Regions from separate parts of the Homo sapiens genome. Here regions 1, 2, 4, 5, 6 and 7 are each linked to region 3. Evidence: promoter capture Hi-C in human tissues and cell types (Jung and others, 2019). All regions are on one chromosome and are shown on one strand. Each heading gives the region's core, a stretch centred on a gene start or on the middle of the fragment in contact. The rest is flanking DNA. Distances are from core to core; before and after follow the strand shown.

Region 1 (2,700 bases), core at 99-2,598, 970 kb after region 3:
TGAGCCCAGGAGTTTGAAACTGGCTTGGGCAACATAGCGAGGCCCAATCTCCCAAATAAATAAATGATATTTTTAAAAACAAAATAACACAGAGCCCTTGGAAATCAAAAATCTAGCAGGAGGAAAAAACATCTCTCGAGTTTATCTTCAATTATTAGTGAATTTAAGCATGTTTTCTTGCTTCAAAGCTGAATTTATTTTTCAAGTAAAATGGTAATAGACATATGTGGTATGACTACCTAGTTATGAAGGTTAAAAGCAGAGGTACATTGTTTAGTACCTATTGCACGTATACGTGGTAAAAATGTTTGTGGTTTCCAAAAAATTCAGGAGTGTGGTAACCTTGGGTGAGAGTGAAGGAACACAGGAGTTTCTGGGAACGGGCACTGTTCTCGATGACTTTGGCAGTGGTTACCTGGTGTCTGCCTTGTAGTTATTTGTGATAGTTAATGTCTTACAGACTTTTCTGTTATGTTTCACAGTTTAACTATTTTTTAAAAATGAGTGATGTCTTTGGCCAAAAACTTCAAATTGAGTTACTTTTATCTTCTATTTTAAAAAGCTGGAGTCACATTAAAAAAAAAAAAAGTCAGCCGTTATAGCACAGCCAGGAACATTGCAGTGGGGGCTGGGGGTTGCACACACAGTTTTATCCGCCCCGTGGTCCTGACGTGCTTGTTGACACAGCCCTGCAGCATTGCTGAGGGCTTACTCAGCAGGCCAGGACTATTCTAACCACGTCACCTGAGTTAACTTGTTTAGCCTCACCAGTGACCCTAGGTAGGTATGATTATTTATTACCTTTTTTTTGTTTTGTTGGTTTTTTGAGACAGGATCTTAGTCTGTCACCCAGGCTACAGTGCAGTGGCACCATCACAGCTCACCGCCTCCAACTTCTGAGCTCAGGCAGTCCTCTCACCTCAACCTTCTGAGGAGCGGGACCAGAGGCTAATTTTAAAATATTTTTGTAGAGACAAGGTCTCACTTGTTTCCCACGCTAGTATTGAACTCCTGGACTCAAGCAGTCCTCCCACCTTGGCCTCCCACCGTGCTAAGATTACAGGTGTGAGCCAGTGCACTTGGACTGTTTGTTACCTTTTTAAAGTTAAGAAGATGGATATGAAGGAAGGTTGACATAACTTGTCCAAGGTCTCACAGTTAGTGAGCAGCTGAGCAGAGACTCCCTGACCCAGGCAGTCTGGCCACAGGACACTCTCCCCACCGTGCTGTGCTGCTCTCCCTGGCCAGGGGTGTCAAGCTTGGGGACTGTGGGTCCCTGGGAGGTCCATGGCTGAGGTTCAGAAGGTTTATCACCCTGAAGTCATGTGAAAAATGTACACATTTCTCTGCAGGGCGAGTCCCGCATATCCCCAGGTGTTCTGTTACCACCTGCAAAAGGTAGACACGCCCGCCCGACCCCCCACTTGCTGTGCTCTGTTATAGTCCTCCTTGTCGCTGCACTCTGGGCCCCTAGAACTGGTGTCCCAGAAAGCCACCCTGCTTTAGGCCCCGCCGCAGCAGTGGGGCCCTCAAGCGGGTCTGAAGACGAGCAGGTGCACAGACCCCCAGCCGAGCCTCATCTCCACGCAAGCACACGTGGGCTCTTCATCCGGTTGCTTCTGTGGAGCAGTGTGGATTGTTAACACTAGGAATTAACTGTTGAATATGTGGTTTTTTCCTGTAACCAAATTGCTGTAACTGTACACTAACCTTGTGTGAGAAAAGTTTGTAGTCCTGCTAAAAGCTCCTCTGTCTCTGCCTATATAAATGAAACCCTAATGTCCCTACTTCAGAACACTGACTCCATTCCTTTGGAGTTGGTGTTTCCAGGTGGGCTATACTCAAGCATTACACATGAATAAACTCTCTTTAAGTTAAATAAATCAATTTACAAAATGTAATTTTTCGAGAACAGAAAATGCAAAAGATCAAAACTCTGTAAACAAAAAAAGGAGACCATGTTAAGCAGTGTGGAGCCCCTGCATTTCCCCAGTCCTGTTTCTTCACACGTGTAGGCATCCCCCACAGGTAACTGCTTTTCTTCAGATAAAAGCAAATAAGAACACTTCCCCTTTTACATGAAAACACTGCATGCTATATGGATTGTTTGCACCCTTGTGTTTTCACTGGATGATATGTATAGATACCTCTTTATCATTGCATAGAAAATAGAGTTGACATGTTTATTTCCATCCCAGACACTGTTGTAAGCATTTGACATATGAGCTACAGTAACTCACTGAGCTTTCTTCCAGTCCTGTGAGGGAGTTCTTTTATTATCCCCATTCTACAGATGAGGACTGTGGGACACAGAAAGGCCAAGTAACTTCCATAGGATCACACAGCAAGTTAGCAGAATGCATCTTCTTTCCTCTTAGATTATAAGTTCTTGGTGCACCAGGGCCATGATTTTAATGACACCAACCTCCATTTAGCATAGCACTTTGTCAAAAGTGGGTGCTTGGTGTCTGCTGAGTGAAGAGATGATCAGTTGGTCCCACAGGGTAGCCATCTTTCTGTGGAATGTTAGGCACGGGCATTTATGCTGAGCATCTAGCCTTTAGTCACCTGCTACTAGGAAGTTACCTCTTAGACGCACATTTTCATTATGGCTTATCAAGTCACTTATAGTTGGCAACAAAGATGTTACATGTGTCTAATTTGCTGACATATCTAGTCACTGGAAGTACCAGCCAGAAT
Region 2 (2,700 bases), core at 191-2,690, 700 kb after region 3:
AAAAAAAAAAAAAAAAAAAGTGGGGCCGGGTACGGTGGCTCATGCCTGTCATCCCAGCACTTTGGGAGGCCGAGGTGGGTGGATCACCTGAGGTTGGGAGTTCGAGACAAGCCTAACCAACATGGAGAAACCCTGTCTCTACTAAAAATAAAAAATTAGCTGGGCATGGTGGCACATGCCTGTAATCCCAGCTACTCCGGAGGCTGAGGCAGGAGAATCACTTGAACCTGGGAGGTAGAGGCTGCAGTGAGCCGAGATCATGCCATTGCACTCCAGCCAGAGCAACAAGAGTGAAACTCCGTCTCAAAAAACAAACAAAAAAAAGTGGGAGGTGAAGCAAAATTGGTTTGAGTCACACAAGGGTTACCCCTAAAACACACATAATCCCTCGGGAACTGGCCTGAGAATAGGAAATGCCGCCCCAGCATCCCTGGTCACTAGAAAATTTCAGCGTATAATTACGACTCCCTCTGCAGGGGCCAGGTATGGACACTAAGGCGTCCGCTGAGGGTCCCGGCCGCATCCCCGGGTGGAGGCCCCCCACCTCCGCCCAGGCAGCGGCGCCCCCTCGCGGCCGCTTACTCGTCGCCGTCGGGGCACACGCCGGTGGCTTCGTTGTACTTGGAGCAGTACACGTCGGGGCTGTAGTTGAAGGTGCCGTCGCGCCTGCGGAGGGGCCTGCGGCGCCGCTGGTTGAGGAAGTGCCAGTGGAAGCAGGTGAACGGCCGGTGCTGCGCGCACTTGTGCTGTGAAAACAGGGGGCACTGCTCCGTCCTGAACTCCTTCAGGTACCTACAAACACAGACAGCGCCGCGGCTCGCTTCCGGCAGCACCTCCAGGGACTCGGACTCGTGGGCGGCGGGACCCACCGGCCTCAGGAGCCTCAACCCAGGGTCGACCCGTACTCACATTCCCGGCGGGCCCCAGGCGCTGCGCCCACCCCCATCCCGACTCCAGACGCGACCCTCACCCGACCTCGTAGCCCAGGCGCTGACCCTGGTCCCCAAGCCCAAGCGCCACCCCGGACCCTGGGCGACCCGCTGTGACCTCACGGTCGGCAGCCGGAGCAGAGGGTCCCGGTCCCCGAGCCCAGGCGCAACCCCCAACCCCGGGGCGTTCCTCCCTCCCCAGAGGCGCGTGGACCCCGGAACCAGGTGCCATCCCAGACCATGGGCGCCGCGCTCCGACCTCAGGCGGAGGCCGCCGAGAGCAGAGGGTCGTGGCCCCCCCAGCCCAGGCGCTGCGCGGAGGCCGGGGGGCGCGGGGGCGGCGGAGGCGGCGCGAGCCCCGGCGGGAGGCTCCGAGCTGCACCGGGCGCGGGCGGGGGGCCGCAGGCCGGACGGGCGCTGACCTGTAGTGGGTCGGCTTCTCAGTCTGCGGGGGGGACCCGCTCAGCGCCGCTGCCGCCGCTTTCGAAACCGACGGCATTTTCAGTCAAAACAATGCAGCGCGCATGCGCCGCGCCGGCGCCCCCGCCCCCGGATATCCCCGCGCGCCCCCGCGGCCACGCCCCCCGCGGCCCCGCCCCCAGCCCGCAGACCCCGGCCCCGCCCCAGCCCCGCGCCCCCCGCAGCCCCGCCCCCGGCCCGCAGACCCCGCCCCAGCCCCGCGCCCCGCCCTGCCCTGCCCTGCCCTGCCCTGCCCTGCCCTGCCCTGCCCTGCCCTGCAGCCCCCGGCCCGGGACGCTGGTCCTGCCCGGGGCCGCGCGTGGGACCCGCGATGGTCGCCCCTGCTGTGACATGACCCGACATAACCGTGTATTTTACATGAATTAATCACAAGAGTTGTATCTCAATAGAGCTGCTCTTCCACAAACGAACCAAGAGGCTGATGTCAGGGGGAGCCAGGCACCGGGCGGAAGGGCCAAGGGGTCCTGGCCTTTGTAGAAAGGAATTTGTTCCATTTCGAACCTTGACCTCAAAAACTTATACTCAGAGATTTATCTACAAAGGTAATTATCACAGTTATTTTGCAAACACTTGAGGTCCCCCTTCCCCCAACAGCGCAGTAGCTGAGAAAAGGGAAAACTCTAAGTGCTCTGCGTGATTTGAAACAGTGCTTCCGAAGAATTTTTAGTGGTAGGAGGCCGGGCGCGGTGTCTCACGCCTGTAATCCCAGCACTTTGGGAGGCCGAGGCCGGCGGATCAGCTGAGTTCGGGAGTTTGACAACAGCTTGGCCAACAGTGAAACCCCGTCTCTACTAAACATACAAAAATATTAGTGGGGTGTGGTGGCTTGCGCCTGTAATTCCTGCTACTCCGGAGGCTGAGGCAGGAGAATGGCGTGAACCCGGGAGGCGGAGGTTTAGTAGTGAGCCGAGATTGCGCCACTGCACTCCAGCCTGGGTGACAGAGTAACACCCTGTCTCAAAAAATAAAAAAGAAATTTTTAGTGATATGAAAAATGTGCCCATTGGCCGGGCGCGGTGGCTCACGCCTATAATCCCTGCACTTTGAGAGGCCGAGGTGGGCGGATCACGAGGTCAGAAGATCGAGACCATCCTGGCTAACACGGTGAAACCCCGTCTCTACTAAAAATACAAAAAAAAAAAAAAAAATTACCCGGGCGTGGTGGTGGGCACCTGTAGTCCCAGCTACTCAGGAGGCTAAGGCAGGAGAATCACTTGAACCCAGGAGGCGGAGCTTGCAGTGAGCCGAGATCGCGCCACTGCACTCCAGCCTGGGCAACAGAGCGAGACTC
Region 3 (2,700 bases), core at 58-2,557:
GGAGGGCCCTGGGGTTGAGGGAGGGCCTGGTCAGTGGGATCCAGCCTCCCACTGCCACTGAGCCATCTGGCCTCATCTGTCCGACTGCCACTGGTGAACTCATCTGTCCACCATGAGTTTCGAGCGCCGGGTGGCAGGAGGTTTGGGGGCAGGGGACGGAATGTTCACATCTTCAGGCTGCACAGTCTATGCTGGTCCTTGCAGTCCCCGGCTAAAGCTTCTGTCGTCCGTAAGGGGTTCAGTATGTAGTGGGACCCCTTTGCTTGTGCCTTAGGCCTTCTGTGATCTGACCTGTCGTCCCCACCCACCACCCATGCCCTGGGGTTTCACTGGGCTGCCAAGAGCTCCTTCCTCAGGCCCTTGACCCAGGCTGTCTGCTCTCCCCCATTCTCTTCCTGTCCACCTGGCCAGCCACTGCCCACTTCCTCCCATCAGGCCAACTCAGCAGTCCCGGATGCTGGGAATCCCACACTGCTCCAGCCTGAGGCTACAGTGTGTTTGCGAATCGCCTGTTTCTGCTTGTTTCATCTTGGTGGGGGCTGCTCCTGTGGCCCAGGGGTGTCCTCCCAGCTCCTGTGTCTCCACGTGCTGCAGGCCTGCAGGGGTGCCCGTGGCTGCTCCATTCACGCCCCTCCAGGAGCCCCGTCTGGCCCGGGGTCGGTCATCCGGCAACTATGGGGTGCCGCTAGGTCTGAGGAAAGGGGCCTAAGCCTGCGGGCTGCGCGCTCTTCAGCAGGACCCCCTCCTGCAGACGGCCTTACCAAAACCCGAGGCCTGGCCCCGCTCCAAGGCGCAGCCCCCAGGCCAGGCCTTCCCCGCCTCTGGAGTCATGACCCCTCTCCTCTGGGGCTCCACCGGCCTCTGGTCAGCAGGACCGGACCTGGTTGGGAGGGATGTGGCCAACAGGCCCAGGTCCCAGTGTTAGGAAGGAGCAGGCCCGGCCGCCCGCGAGGCGGAACCACCAGGTGGGCCACCTTCCCTACCGCCACCCCGAGGTTCCAGTGGACATCAAAACCTCGGCTCCATCAGAGGCTCCAGGACTCCGATCGGGACAGCGCGGGGGGCGAGGCCAGGGTGAGGGCGCGGCGAAGGAGAGACGCACAGCGCGGGGCGGGCAAGGAGCCTCCCTTCCGCGCCAAGGCCCCCCCCAACCCTCGAGGCGCTTGGACCGTGGGATAGTCCTCCGGCGGCGCCCGAGCTCCGGCCCCGCCCCCGCTCCGCCCCGCGCCTGCTATTGGCGGAAAGTTCCGGGCCGCGCCGCGACTGGCCGACACGCCGCAGGCCCCGCCCCCTTCCCGACCCGCTCCAAGGCGGCCCCGGCGCTGGGGCTGCGCGGCAGGCGGAGCGGCCGCGGGCTTGGGGGCTTCGCCGGGGCCGGGCGGCCGGCGCCCCCGGCTGCTCCCGCCGCCGCCCGGACCCGCGCCCCGCCGGGGCAGCGGTGGTGAGAGCCCCGACTCCCCGGACGCCGCCCGCCGTGCCATGGGGTTCCCGGCCGCGGCGCTGCTCTGCGCGCTGTGCTGCGGCCTCCTGGCCCCGGCTGCCCGCGCCGGCTACTCCGAGGAGCGCTGCAGCTGGAGGGGCAGGTACGGTCCGGGGGGCTGTCCCCGCACTTAGGACGGGGTGCGCTGCGGCTAGGACCCCCCAGGCGCCCCTCGGAGCGCGCAGAGCGCTGGGCCGGTTTCCCCATCCGCGAGGCGGCCTCGGGAGGGAGCGGGGGCTGCGCCGGGCGGGGACCCGCCCCCGTCTCAGCGCCCCGTCCCGTCCTGTCCCCAGCGGCCTCACCCAGGAGCCCGGCAGCGTGGGGCAGCTGGCCCTGGCCTGTGCGGAGGGCGCGGTTGAGTGGCTGTACCCGGCTGGGGCGCTGCGCCTGACCCTGGGCGGCCCCGATCCCAGAGCGCGGCCCGGCATCGCCTGTCTGCGGCCGGTGCGGCCCTTCGCGGGCGCCCAGGTCTTCGCGGAGCGCGCAGGGGGCGCCCTGGAGCTGCTGCTGGCCGAGGGCCCGGGCCCGGCAGGGGGCCGCTGCGTGCGCTGGGGTCCCCGCGAGCGCCGGGCCCTCTTCCTGCAGGCCACGCCGCACCAGGACATCAGCCGCCGCGTGGCCGCCTTCCGCTTTGAGCTGCGCGAGGACGGGCGCCCCGAGCTGCCCCCGCAGGCCCACGGTCTCGGCGTAGACGGTGAGTGGCGGTCTGGTTGGGACAGGGTGGGAGTCCCGAAGTCTTACCCTGCCTGGGCTTGGCGGGAATGTGCCTTGTCGGCCCCACTGCAGAAGGAAAAAGTGAGCTACAAGGGTTGGATGGGCTTGTCAGGCCACACAGCCTGGGACTGCTGGGGAGGGATGGCCTCCCCGCCCTCCCTTCCCGATTCATCTCTGGAAAGAGCTGGCAGGGGCAGAGTGGAGGGAAGGGGAGGCCGGGCCCAGCAATCCTGGGCCTCTGGTCCCTGAACGGTTGGGGGAAGAGATGGTGGGGACAGAATCGAAGCCTCCGGCCAAAGCTGTCCGGGGCTCCCTGGCCCAGCGGTGACCTCTCTCCCCTCCCCCAGCCCAACCAACAAAAGTCCAGTGTGCAGCCCGGTCACCATGGAGACGCCGCTCGCCTCCCTGCAGGGCACCAGGCCCAGCTCTTGCTTGGCTCTCCTGGAGCTTGGCGCCTGACCCTGAAAGGGATGGGCTCTCGCTATTCTGCCCCCTGGCCCTGGGCC
Region 4 (2,700 bases), core at 18-2,517, 990 kb after region 3:
GATAAATATGTGGTTGGAAGTATAAGAGCCTATTAAAACTGCTAGAATATAAGAAATCAAATAGGACAAAAACAGAATCATTGGCAGGGTGCAGTGGCTCACGCCTGTAATCCCAGCACTTTGGGACGCCGAGGGAGGCGGGTGGATCACTTGAGGTCAGCAGTTCAAGACCAGCCTGGCCAACATGGTGAAACCCCGTCTCTACTAAAAATACAAAAAAATGAGCCGGGCGTTAATAGCGCGTGTCTGTAGTCCCAGCTACTCAGGAGGCTGAGGCAGGAGAATCGCTTGGACCCAGGAGGCGAAGGTTGCAGTGAGCCGAGATCGCGCCATCACACTCCAGCCTGGGCGACAAGAGCGAAACACCGTCTCAAAAAAAAAAAAATCGGTGCAATTAATAACCCAGTGGATGGGTTAAACAGATTGCACGTAGCTGAAAAGTAACCGAAAATCTGGACTGGCGCGGTGGCTCACGCCTGTCATCCCAGCACTCTGGGAGGTCGAGGCGGGCGGATCACTTGAGATCAGAAATTTGAGACCAGCCTGGCCAACATGGCGAAACCCCGTCTCTACTAAAAATACAAAATTAGCTGGTCTGTAATCCCAGCTACTCCGGAGGCTGAGGGAGAAGAATCACTTGAACCCAGAAGGCGGAGCTTGCAGTGAGCCAGGATCGCGCCACCGCACTCCAGCCTGGGCGACAGAGCAAGACTCCATCTCAAAAAAAAAAAAAAAAAAGAAAATCTGAAGCAGTCAGTGCAGTAGGGAGAAGTGGGCGAAAGGAAGGAGGCCACGCTGCTGGGTTTCAGGATGAGATGGGCGTTGAGGGTGCATTCACAGAATCCCGGGAGGAGCCAGCTGAGCGGGGAAGGCATCAGGAGAGGGGAGGCACTGAGCGGGGCGCGGTGCTGTAGGGAACGGAGGCTCATCAGGGCGGCCGGGATTGAGGCGCAGGCGCTGAGCCTTCACCTAAGTCCGCCGAAGTGTGCAGAGCCTGGAGACGGGATCGAGGTCACCGGAAGCCCACGGTTGCGGGGACATGATCAAGCTACAGCGCGCTGGGGGAAGCGACCACTGCCGCCCCGCGGATCCCACCGGCCTGGCCGGGAGCTCCCTCTGCCCGGCTCACCCGCGCTTCCGGCCCGAAGCCCGGCTTCCTCTGACGTCACGGCCCCTGCGCCCCCTGGCGGCGCGGCTGCGGCGGGACGCGCGGGCACCGCCCCCTCCGGCTGGAGGGCGGGACTTCCGGTGAGTGAGTGACGGGCGCAGCCTCGGCAGCGGCGGCGGCGGAGCCCTGAGGCGACAGCAGCTGCGGGAGGCGACGGGCTGCGGCCTGCGGAACCTGAGGCAGCTGGGGAGGGCCGGGCGCGCCGGCCGGATAGCGAGCCGCGCTGGCGGCGGCGGTGGCCGCGATGATGGAGATCCAGATGGACGAGGGCGGCGGCGTGGTGGTGTACCAGGACGACTACTGCTCCGGCTCGGTGATGTCGGAGCGGGTGTCGGGCCTGGCGGGCTCCATCTACCGCGAGTTCGAGCGCCTCATCCACTGCTACGACGAGGAGGTGGTCAAGGAGCTCATGCCGCTGGTGGTGAACGTGCTGGAGAACCTAGACTCGGTGCTCAGCGAGAACCAGGAGCACGAGGTGGAGCTGGAGCTGCTGCGCGAGGACAACGAGCAGCTGCTCACCCAGTACGAGCGTGAGAAGGCGCTGCGCAGGCAGGCGGAGGAGGTGCGTGGGCCGCGGGACCCGCCCGCATCCCCGTCCCGGACCCCCAGCCAGCCCCGGGCCCCGGACCCAACACCCGTCCCGACCCCAGACCCCGCTCCGGCACCCCGGACCGCGGGACCCCTGGACCCCCAGACCCCGCCCCGAGACCCGCCTGGACCCCATATCCCCCGCCCCGGGACTTCCCCACCCCCTCTGCCCGCCGTGAGACACCTCCCTAGAGCACTCCCCCGCCTGCCCCGGGACCCCACCCCGACTCCCGGGGACCCCCTTTTCCGCCCAGGCCTGGGCCCTGGCCCCCTCCTCCGTGCCCCCAGCCCTGAATCTTCAGCCCCAAACCCGATGTGCCTGGCGTCATCCCCGGGGAGCTCAGCTTCAAAGCCAGGCCTCACTCTCCCCTCCCCACCCACCTCTGCATGACAATTGCCTTTGCTTTCGTGCGTGTGTTCAGTCAAAACCGTTTCCCGACCCCAAGTGCTACCTCTGTTGGCTGCCATTCTAAACCCATCTAGAAAAGGAATCTTTTGGTGTTCTTAGGGGGCTGCAGCCGTCTGTGGATGATGTTGGAGACCTTTCCCTTGTCCCTAATCCCGTATTTTGAAGGTCTGTGACACGGGTGAATTGGGTGGTTGATGTAAACACAGAACAAGGCCGCAGGCGGGCTGCTCCTCTGTCAGCAGAAGGAACACTCGAGTTTCTGGAGGTGATGTCTTTGCCCCCTTGGTTCCTTGCTTGGCGAGATTGTTAGCTGATGTAGCCAGGGCTGAGAAACTCCACTCTGGCTTCTGAGGAGTTAACAGTCTGAGTTTGAAGCGTTTAATTCTGTGCTAGGATGTCTCCATAACCTGGAAATCGCTTGTCTGTGAAGCAGTTACAAGAGCCGGGCCCTGTGGGGAGCACCACTTAGCTTCATTCATTCACCGTCAGATACTGAGCTCGGCCTGCCTGTGTGTGGGCCCAGAACCTCGCCCTT
Region 5 (2,700 bases), core at 88-2,587, 660 kb after region 3:
GAACCCTGGGATAAGAGGACCTGCTGTGTTTCCCTGCAACGCCACGTACCTAGGTGCGACGCCTGGGGTTCAGGTGCATCTTCCCCCGCCACACCCAGCCCCCCCAACCGAGATAGAGTCTTGCTCTGTCACCCAGGCTGGAGTGCAATGGCGCGATCTCAGCTCACTGCAACCTCCGCCTCCCAGGTTCAAGCTATTCTCCTGCCTCAGCCTCCTGAGCAGCTGGGACTACAGGTGCCCTCCACCACCCCCAGCTAATTTTGCATTTTTAGTAGAGACAGGTTTTCTCTATGTTGGTCAGGCTGGTCATGAACTCCCCACCTCAGGTGATCTGCTTGCCTCATCTCCCAAAGTGCTGGGATTACAGGTGCAAGCCACCATGCCCAGCCTCAAATGCAACTTTCAGGGGACACAATTCAACCCAGGACATGGGGGCCCACCTGCAGATGCCCCTGTTGGTCCTGCCCGTCCTCCCCAGGCCCCTCAGGACTCTGTATCAACAGATCTGGCCCCTGCTGTGCACAGCCCTCCCTCCCTGAGTCCTCCCTCAGAAAGGAGACCCCCCCTCTGCCTCCACTCCCCCTGCAGCTGTTTTCTGGGGCCTCCTCACCACTCACTCTGCCCACCGCTGCCCCGGGCCCTTCCCTCCAGCCCTGCGCCTGTGCCCTGAACTGCCTCTTGTCATAGGCACCAGCTTCCCTCCCAGGCCCACCCTCCTCCCTGAGGGCTGGCAGCCTCTCCTGTGGCCTGGACCCGCCCAACACAGTGGCTCTGCAGCCCCGAGCCCAGATGTCCAGCAGGGGCCAAAGCCCTTCCTCCTCCCTGGCAAAGGATCCCTTGCTTGTTCCCATGGCCCCACTGCAGGCCCTTCCCAGACACCACGTGTGCAGGGGCTGCTGGAAGCTGGCACTGCAGGATCCCTTCCTCATGGGCTGCTCGCTCAACCCACACCCCCTGAGGCCCATGCCCAGCCTGCCTTCATGCATTGCAATAGTAACCTTCCTACCAAGAAAAGCCTCATTGCATCCTGAATCCTGACCTGCAAGAAAGGAGGAAGCTTGTGCCCTTGCGCGTGCCGGTCACCGCTTCCCAATGGGTCCTTTGCCGGGCTCCTAACCTGCTGTGCCACTGCAGGCTCAGCCTGGCTGTGCCTTCCATTCAGTAAGATCAGCCACACCAGTCCCCAGAAAGCTGCTCGGCCTCCAAGCCCTGCATGGAATGCCCCCCACTACATCCTTGCAGGTGTCAGCCTGAACCATGTCAGGGCCCTGGACAGACTCACTGAGGACAGGCACCGACCCCCCAACCCGCAGGCCTGCCCACAGCCCCCTCATGCTCCCATACGGGGGCTTGATGACGGGCAGGGCCAAGCGGTTTGCCCATAGTCAGGTCAGCCAGGCTCGGGAACCTGGACCTGCCCTCTGCACCCAAGTCCCAGGATCAGGATATGGCAGCCCCTTCAGAGCTCACCGCCCCTCACACCTGGCAGAGATCCAGAAACTCCTCATGAAAATCAAAGACGCAAAGAAGTTGGGGGACAGGAACGGAGGCGCCTTTTCTCCCCTTGGAGTGGGGTGATCCCACCAGGCTCCGTGCTAAGTCGGCAGAAGCTTCACCCACCAGCTGCAGAGTGCGCAGCATGTGGAGGGGCTAAGCTGCCTTCAATGCTCACCCGACAAACTACGGCTCGCACTCAACTCAGAGGGCGTCAGCCACCACCTACCTCAGCCAAGTCACCTGTGCTGAAGCCCGGGAAGCTGCCTGGAGAGGGGACGTTCAGGGAGCGTGTGGGTGCCCCCGAGAGACTCCGGCCCCGCTTCAAAGCCAAGTGCCCCTCATCCAAAGAGAGCACCGGAGAGGGTCCTGGAGGCTCCACCACCCCTAGGGTGCTATCTAGGGCTCACTCCCAGAAATCAAGGGGGGAGACGGCTGCTGCACCGTCCTGGCCCACTTTCTCACCCGCAGCTTCTCCCCCACCTCACCTCACTGTTTCAAGGTTAGACCCAGATCTTCTGAAACATTCTCAAAGAAAGAGCTGACCCTTGTGCAGAGGCAAAATCTAGGTGAGGCTGGTCACCTAAGCGAGTACAGCTGGGTCAGGCCAGGCTGCCTCAGCCCCGGGCGTTAGGAAACCACCGGCCCCGCTGAGTCACCGCGACACAGCCCGGCTCTGCCGTGACACAGCACATTCAAGGCGCCGCGGTCCCCCGGGGTCAGGGACACGCGAGGACAAGCTACAGACTGCTCGGAACTCAGGACAGGGCGGGGGAGCCGCCGACGCCAGGGAAATTCCCGTACCACGCGGGCTGAGTGCAGGCGGGCCAGGCCAGGACGCAGGGGTCGGCCCTCCCCCGCCCCGTTCCCCTGCCCTCTCCTGCCCCGCTCCGCTCCGCTCTCCTGCCCCGCTCCCCTGCCCTCCCTCGGGGCACCGACCCCGCCTAGCTAGGGGACGCAGGCGGCCCGAGCCCGCGCTGGGAAGCGGCGAGCGCCCGGCAGAGGCAGGTTCCGAGAAGGCGACGCCTTCGCCTCGCTCCGGGCCTCTGAGAAGCCCGGGCCCACCCCGCGGCTGTCACACCCGGCTCCGTGACGCGGGGGACGCACCTGGCGGGGGGCGCACCTAAGGGAGGGCCCGCTCCTGACCGCCGAGTAACGAGACCCGCACCTTGGCGGCGCACGGCTGCCACGCGCTGGGGCCGCCGC
Region 6 (2,700 bases), core at 159-2,658, 760 kb after region 3:
GCCTCGGCCTCCCAAAGTGCTGGGATTACAGATGTGAGCCACCGTGCCCTGCCGTCCTTCCTAATCTTTAAGCACAAGACAAGTGTTTAAAGGACTAGACAAGAGAAAATGTAAAGAATAACTGCAAAGCAGATTAAGACCCATCAACAAAACGGTCCATTAACTCAAAAGTAACACAATACGGCCAGGCGCAGTGGCTCACGCCTGTAATCCCAGCACTTTGGGAGGCTGAGGTGCGGGGGATCACGTGAGGTCGGGAGTTCGAGGCCAGCCTGACCAACACGGAGGAACCCCGTCTCTACTAAAAATACAAAATTAGCCGGGCGCGGTGGCGCACGCCTGTAATTCCAGCTACTCAGGAGGCTGAGGCAGGAGAGTCACTTAAACTCGGGAGGTGGGGGTTGCAGTGAGCCGAGATCGCGCCATTGCACTCCAGCCTGGGCAACTACAGTGAAACTCCGTCTCAAAAAAAAAAAAATATTAAGACAATACACAGACAGGGAAACAAATGTACCCGCAACGGTTCTCCAGACCTTAACACTGCTCAGACGCACGCTGCAGGGTGACATGCGGAACGCATTCCAACCTCTGACTTGCTGCTTATTGTGTTTGCCTGCACATTGCAAATTCAACTCGGTGCGAAGGGAGACTGAGTACAAATACTCGTCACTCCCAAGATCACCTGAAAGTCGGGACTGATCCCCACACAGAAAGATGGCAGATAAAGGCGCTCAGTCATTCTCACTGAAAGACAGTGACCCGGCTGCAATCTTAACTGTTTCCATCTCCCAGGGGGTCAAAAACGCAAACAAAATTAGTTGCTCGTGTAGGATGACAATTTTTAAAAGTCACCTGAACAGAAAGCCACTTGCACCCCTTTAGGGCCAGTCTGGGGGACACCGGAGGGAATGAACGTGCGCCACGGCTGCCCCGGCGCCCCTCAGCGCCCCACATTCCGCGGGGTCTGGCGAGCTCCGCCTCGCCCACGCAGCCCTCCCGGCCACCGAGCCCGGCGCGGCCTCCGAAGACTCCAGACCCCAGGCGCCCCCGCCAGCCCGGCCCCGCCGAGGAGCCCCGGGGCGCGTTCCCGAGTCCACCGCGCCTCGGTCGCCTCCAGGACCGAGACACGCGGCGCCGCCAGAAGGCTCACGAGGGCGCGGGCTGCGGGGCGCACGAGGGCTCAGTTTCCCCGCCTGCGCCCTGCCCGGCCTCACCTGGCGCGCAGCCCCAGGCCCAGCCCCGTTCAGCAGCGGCGTCCCCCCGCCGGGCCGCGCCGTCCTCCGCAGCAGCGGCGCCGCCTCCTCGTCGTCCCGGTCCCGGCCGGACCAGGACACCTTCTTAGAGACGTTGGCCATGGCCCGCCGCGGAGCGACACCGGCCGGGAAGCGCCGGCTGCCCCCGTGTTTGTTCTCGTGACCCGCGCCGGCGGCCACGTGACGCGCGACGGGGCCACGTGATGAGCGACGGCGACCATGTGACCTGCAACGGCAACCACCGAGGCCCGGTCGCGCGGGGGCTCCTGGGAGCCGCGCTCCCGGCGGGTCGTGGCGCCGCCCGCCCTAGAGAATCGCCGCGGCCCTGAGGACCCCGTTCTGCCCACGCGACTGCAAAGGCGGCCCCGTTGGGCTGAGCGCCGAGTGCTTGGGAGGCGAATGGCCGCCCCCGGGACCTCGGGCCCGGGAGTCGGGGCGAGGGAAGCGCCCGGGGCCTGAGGGCAGGAGCCGGCTGGAGGGGCTCCCCCAGGCCCGGTCGCCCGCGCCGATCGTGACGGAGCCGCGGTGGGGAAGGGAGGAGGGAGGCAGGGGCGAGGGCAGGCCTTTCCTTGCCATAGGCGGCGGCTAAAGACGTGAAGGATGAAATTAGAAGTCCCGAAGCATGCATCCGCCCTCGCAGTAGGCACTCGGGCGAGGGTCGGAGTGGAGGCTTCCTCCAGGCAGCCCCAGAGGGTCCTCCCGCCTAATGAGAAAAGAACAGAAGGCGAGTCCTCTTCAACGATCAGGCCCCAGAGACAGTACAGGAGGGTCGCCTCTGGAAACTGCCGGCTACTACGCAGATAGCTGTGAATTAGCCAAATAGCCGCCCGGACCCTGTACCCGCACCAGGGCACAGCCCATCACTAATCAATGGTATTTCCATAAACCAAAGAGAATTCTTGACAGCTTTACATCAGCCCCCACCCTGTCCCCACCTTCTGGGTCATTTATTTATTTATTTTGAGACAGGGTCTCCTTCTGTCGCCCAGGCTGGAGTGCGGTGGTGCGGTCACAGCTCAGTGCAGCCTTGACCTCCTGGACTCAAGCCATCCTCCCGCCTCAGCCTCTGGAGTAACAGGGACCACAGGCCTGCACCACCACACCCGGCTAATTTTTGCTGTGGAGCTCACAGTGTGTTGCCCAGGCTGTTCTCAAACTTCTGACCTCAAGTGATCCTTCCACGTTAGCCTCTAGAGTAAACTCTTTATATTTTGTGCCTCATCCTCTTCCTTTTAAAAGGTCGATATTTTTATTATTGAGACGGAGTCTCACTCTGTCGCCCAGGTTGGAGTGCAGTGGCCCAATCTCGGCTCACTGCCTCCCGGGTTCATGCCTCAGCCTCCCGAGTAGCCGGGACTACAGGCGCCCGTCACCATGGCCGGCTAATTTTTTGTATTTTTAGTACAGATGGGGTTTCACTGTGTTAGCCAGGATGGTCTCGATCTCC
Region 7 (2,700 bases), core at 201-2,700, 640 kb after region 3:
CATCATCTCCACAACTTGCTCTGTCCCCTTCAAACCCTGACTCCCAGCTGCCCCGCTCCCCCAGCCCCGGCACCCACCATTCTGCTGTCTCTGAACTTGGCTATTCATAGACGTCACATAGGTGACTCATAACTGTGTGCGACCTTTTGTGTCTGACCAACTCCTCTTGGCACAGTGTCCCCAAGGTCCCCCAGGCTGGAGGCTCTCAGTGCTTCCTTTTTATATGGCTGAGGACTGTTCCACTGCAAGGACAGACCACGTTGTTGTTTACCCGTCATCTGTCCATGGACACTGGAGTGGCTTCCACCCTCTGCCTGGGAATAGGCTGCTGTGAACTTGGGTGTAAATATTTGAGTCTCTGCTTCCAATTTCTGAGAGTAGCTTTGCTGGATCTTATTAGAATTCCATGTTTAGCTTTTTGAGGAACCACCAAACTGTTTGCATAGTGGCTGCACCGTTTCCCATTCCAGCCAGCATTGCACGAGGGGTCCAGTTTCTCCACATTTTCACCAACACTGTTTTTTGCTAACAGCCATCCTAGTGGGTGTGAAGCGGTACCTTAGGGTTGTTTTAATTTGCATTTCCCTAATGATCAGTCATGTGGGATCTTTTCAGTTGCTTATGGTGTTTGTCCTTTTTTTTTTTTGAGATGGAGTCTCACTCTGTGGCCCAGACTGGAGTACAGTGGCGCCATCTTGGCTCACTGCAAGCTCTGCCTCCCAGGCTCAGGCGATTCTCCTGCCTCAGCCTCTCAAGTAGCTGGGATTACAGGCGTGAGCCACCACACCTGGCTCATTTTTATTTAGTAGAGACGGGGTTTCACCATGTTGGCCAGGCTGGTCTCAAACTCCTGACCTCATGATCCGCCTGCCTCGGCCTCCCGAAGTGCTGGGATTCCCGGCTTCTCTGCCCATTTTTAACTTGAGTTTATTGTTGGGCTGTAGTTCTGTGTTCTGGATGTGAGTCTCTTACATACGTGGTTTGCCAGTGTTTATTTTCTCCCATTCTGTGGGTTGTCTTTTCACTCCCTTGATGGGTTTGTTTTTTTTTCCATATAGAGTCTAACTCTGTAGCCCAGGCTGGAGTGCAGTAGCACGATCTTGGCTCACGGCAACCTCTCCACCTCCCAGGCTCAAGGAATTCTCCTGCCTCAGCCTCCCGAGTAGCTGGGACTGCAGGCATCCGCCATCACGCCTGGCTAATTTTTTTGTACTTTATTAGAGATCAGGTTTCACCATGTTGGCCAGGATGGTCTCGATCTCCTGACTTCGTGATCCGTCTGCCTCGGCCTCCCAAAGCACTGGGATTACAGGCGTGAGACCCTGCGCCCGGCCTCTATGCCAGTCTTTATGCCAGTATCACACTGTTTTGATCATAACAGCTTTGAAGTAATTTTTGGAATCAGTATGTACGAGTCTCTCAACTCTGTCTTTAAGATTTGTTCGATGATTTGGGGTCCTCTGAGACTCCCTATGAACTTTAGGATGTGTTTTTCTATTTCTGCAAAAACTGTCATTGGGGTTTTGATGGGGTTGCATTGAATCTGCAGATCACTCTGGGTGGTATTGTCATCTTAAAAATATTGAATCCATCAGGCTGGGCGCTGGGGCTCACGCCTGTAATCCCAGTACTTTAGGAGGCTGAGGCAGGTGGATCACCTGAGGTCAGGAGTTTGAGACCATCCTGGCCAACATGGAGAAACCCCGTCTCTACAAAAATACAAAAATTAGCCAGCCGTGATGGCAGGCACCGGTAATCCTAGCTACTGGGGAGACTGAGGCGGGAAAATCGGTTGAACCCAGTGGTGGAGATTGTAGTGAGCCAAGATCGTGCCACTGCAATCCAGCCTGGCGACAATGCTAGACTCCGTCTCAAAAAAAAAAAAGTGGCGTATGGATGTCTCATGTCAGCTTTATGTAGTGGGTGGCACTGTTTGTGCGTGGATAATTGTGGTGTCTTGGCACATTGACCCTTTTATCAATGTATAACATCTTTGTCTCTTAAAATAGTTTCAGCCACTTCAGCTCTCTTTTGCCTGTTTATATGAATACTTTTCCATACCTTCACTTTCAACCTGTTTATGTCTTTAAATCTGAAGTTAGTCTTTCAGGCCGGGCATAGTGGCTCACACCTGTAATCCCAGCACTTGGGAGGCCAAGGTGGACGGATCACTTCAGGTCCACAGTTGCAGACCAGCCTGGCCAACACAGTGAAACCCCGCCTCTGCTGAAGATACAAAAATTAGCTGGGCGTGGTGGCGGGCACGTGGGATCCCAGCTACTCGGGAGGCTGAGGCAGGGGAATCACTTGAACCCAGGAGGCGGAGGTTGCAGTGAGCCGAGATCGCGCCACTGCATTTCACCTTGGGTGACAGAGTGAGACTGTCTCCAAAAGAAAAAAAAGAATCTAATGCCTGATGAGCTGAGGTGGAACAGTTTCATCCCCAAACCACCCATCCCCACCCCCGGCTGGTAGAAAAACTGCCTTCCATGAAACCAGTCCCTGGTGCCAAAAAGATTGGGGACCACTGGTTTAAGTCCTGTAGCTTTACAGACCATAGCTAGAAAGGCAACTGGTATTAATTCACCCTGCACGAGGACCTCCGTCTGCCTCCGCTGAGCTGCTGTCTGCTCACTTCCCCGGGTGGCACACCGGCCTGCATGTAACCAACTCCTGAAGCTTTTATCTGGGAATGTCCTC

What was found. Contacts are between HindIII fragments. The study calls those that stand out against the background at their distance.
Region 1: a fragment that was not itself captured here is called in contact with the fragment with the promoter of METRN in region 3 in 1 of the 25 tissues and cell types used here (lymphoblastoid cells).
Region 2: a contact is called between the fragment with the promoter of UNKL here and the fragment with the promoter of METRN in region 3, in 1 of the 25 tissues and cell types used here (dorsolateral prefrontal cortex).
Region 4: the fragment with the promoter of MAPK8IP3 here is called in contact with the fragment with the promoter of METRN in region 3 in 1 of the 25 tissues and cell types used here (lymphoblastoid cells).
Region 5: a contact is called between a fragment that was not itself captured here and the fragment with the promoter of METRN in region 3, in 4 of the 25 tissues and cell types used here (dorsolateral prefrontal cortex, heart left ventricle, lymphoblastoid cells and 1 more).
Region 6: a contact is called between the fragment with the promoter of CLCN7 here and the fragment with the promoter of METRN in region 3, in 4 of the 25 tissues and cell types used here (dorsolateral prefrontal cortex, hippocampus, lymphoblastoid cells and 1 more).
Region 7: a contact is called between a fragment that was not itself captured here and the fragment with the promoter of METRN in region 3, in 2 of the 25 tissues and cell types used here (dorsolateral prefrontal cortex and lymphoblastoid cells).

The regions. Positions count from the first base shown.
Region 1 is chr16:1,688,657-1,691,356 of GRCh38, forward strand. All of the region lies in intron 2 of JPT2 (Jupiter microtubule associated homolog 2), which reads left to right. Among named protein-coding and RNA genes, the nearest start is that of JPT2, 12 kb to the left of the region's middle. RefSeq lists an enhancer at 1,166-1,862. The HindIII fragment of the contact is 4,702 bases long and covers 1-2,700 here.
Region 2 is chr16:1,413,264-1,415,963 of GRCh38, forward strand. It overlaps UNKL (unk like zinc finger), which reads right to left and starts at 1,441. Exons shown (of 15, transcript NM_001372107.1): 1 at 1,352-1,441; 2 at 583-792. The coding sequence starts at 1,428. RefSeq lists enhancers at 342-916, 917-1,491, 1,492-2,066, 2,067-2,640 and silencers at 436-585, 1,016-1,065, 1,606-1,725, 1,776-1,845. The HindIII fragment of the contact is 21,408 bases long and covers 1-2,700 here.
Region 3 is chr16:713,811-716,510 of GRCh38, forward strand. METRN (meteorin, glial cell differentiation regulator) reads left to right here and starts at 1,308. Exons shown (of 4, transcript NM_024042.4): 1 at 1,308-1,583; 2 at 1,774-2,174. The coding sequence starts at 1,480. RefSeq lists enhancers at 324-922, 1,521-2,118, 2,119-2,700 and silencers at 1,067-1,376, 1,477-1,906, 2,007-2,066. The HindIII fragment of the contact is 3,141 bases long and covers 1-2,060 here.
Region 4 is chr16:1,704,928-1,707,627 of GRCh38, forward strand. It overlaps MAPK8IP3 (mitogen-activated protein kinase 8 interacting protein 3), which reads left to right and starts at 1,268. Exons shown (of 32, transcript NM_001318852.2): 1 at 1,268-1,730. The coding sequence starts at 1,413. RefSeq lists silencers at 1-115, 1,022-1,361, 1,632-1,741, 1,762-1,811 and an enhancer at 599-1,463. The HindIII fragment of the contact is 16,634 bases long and covers 1-2,700 here.
Region 5 is chr16:1,376,932-1,379,631 of GRCh38, forward strand. The region is part of intron 10 of UNKL (unk like zinc finger); the gene reads right to left. Among named protein-coding and RNA genes, the nearest start is that of GNPTG, 26 kb to the left of the region's middle. RefSeq lists silencers at 2,362-2,431, 2,502-2,551, 2,592-2,671. The HindIII fragment of the contact is 4,164 bases long and covers 1-2,700 here.
Region 6 is chr16:1,473,620-1,476,319 of GRCh38, forward strand. It overlaps CLCN7 (chloride voltage-gated channel 7), which reads right to left and starts at 1,409. Exons shown (of 25, transcript NM_001287.6): 1 at 1,215-1,409. The coding sequence starts at 1,355. RefSeq lists silencers at 1,152-1,361, 1,482-1,831 and an enhancer at 1,369-1,912. The HindIII fragment of the contact is 17,994 bases long and covers 1-2,700 here.
Region 7 is chr16:1,358,234-1,360,933 of GRCh38, forward strand. All of the region lies in intron 3 of GNPTG (N-acetylglucosamine-1-phosphate transferase subunit gamma), which reads left to right. Among named protein-coding and RNA genes, the nearest start is that of GNPTG, 7.7 kb to the left of the region's middle. The HindIII fragment of the contact is 7,317 bases long and covers 1-2,700 here.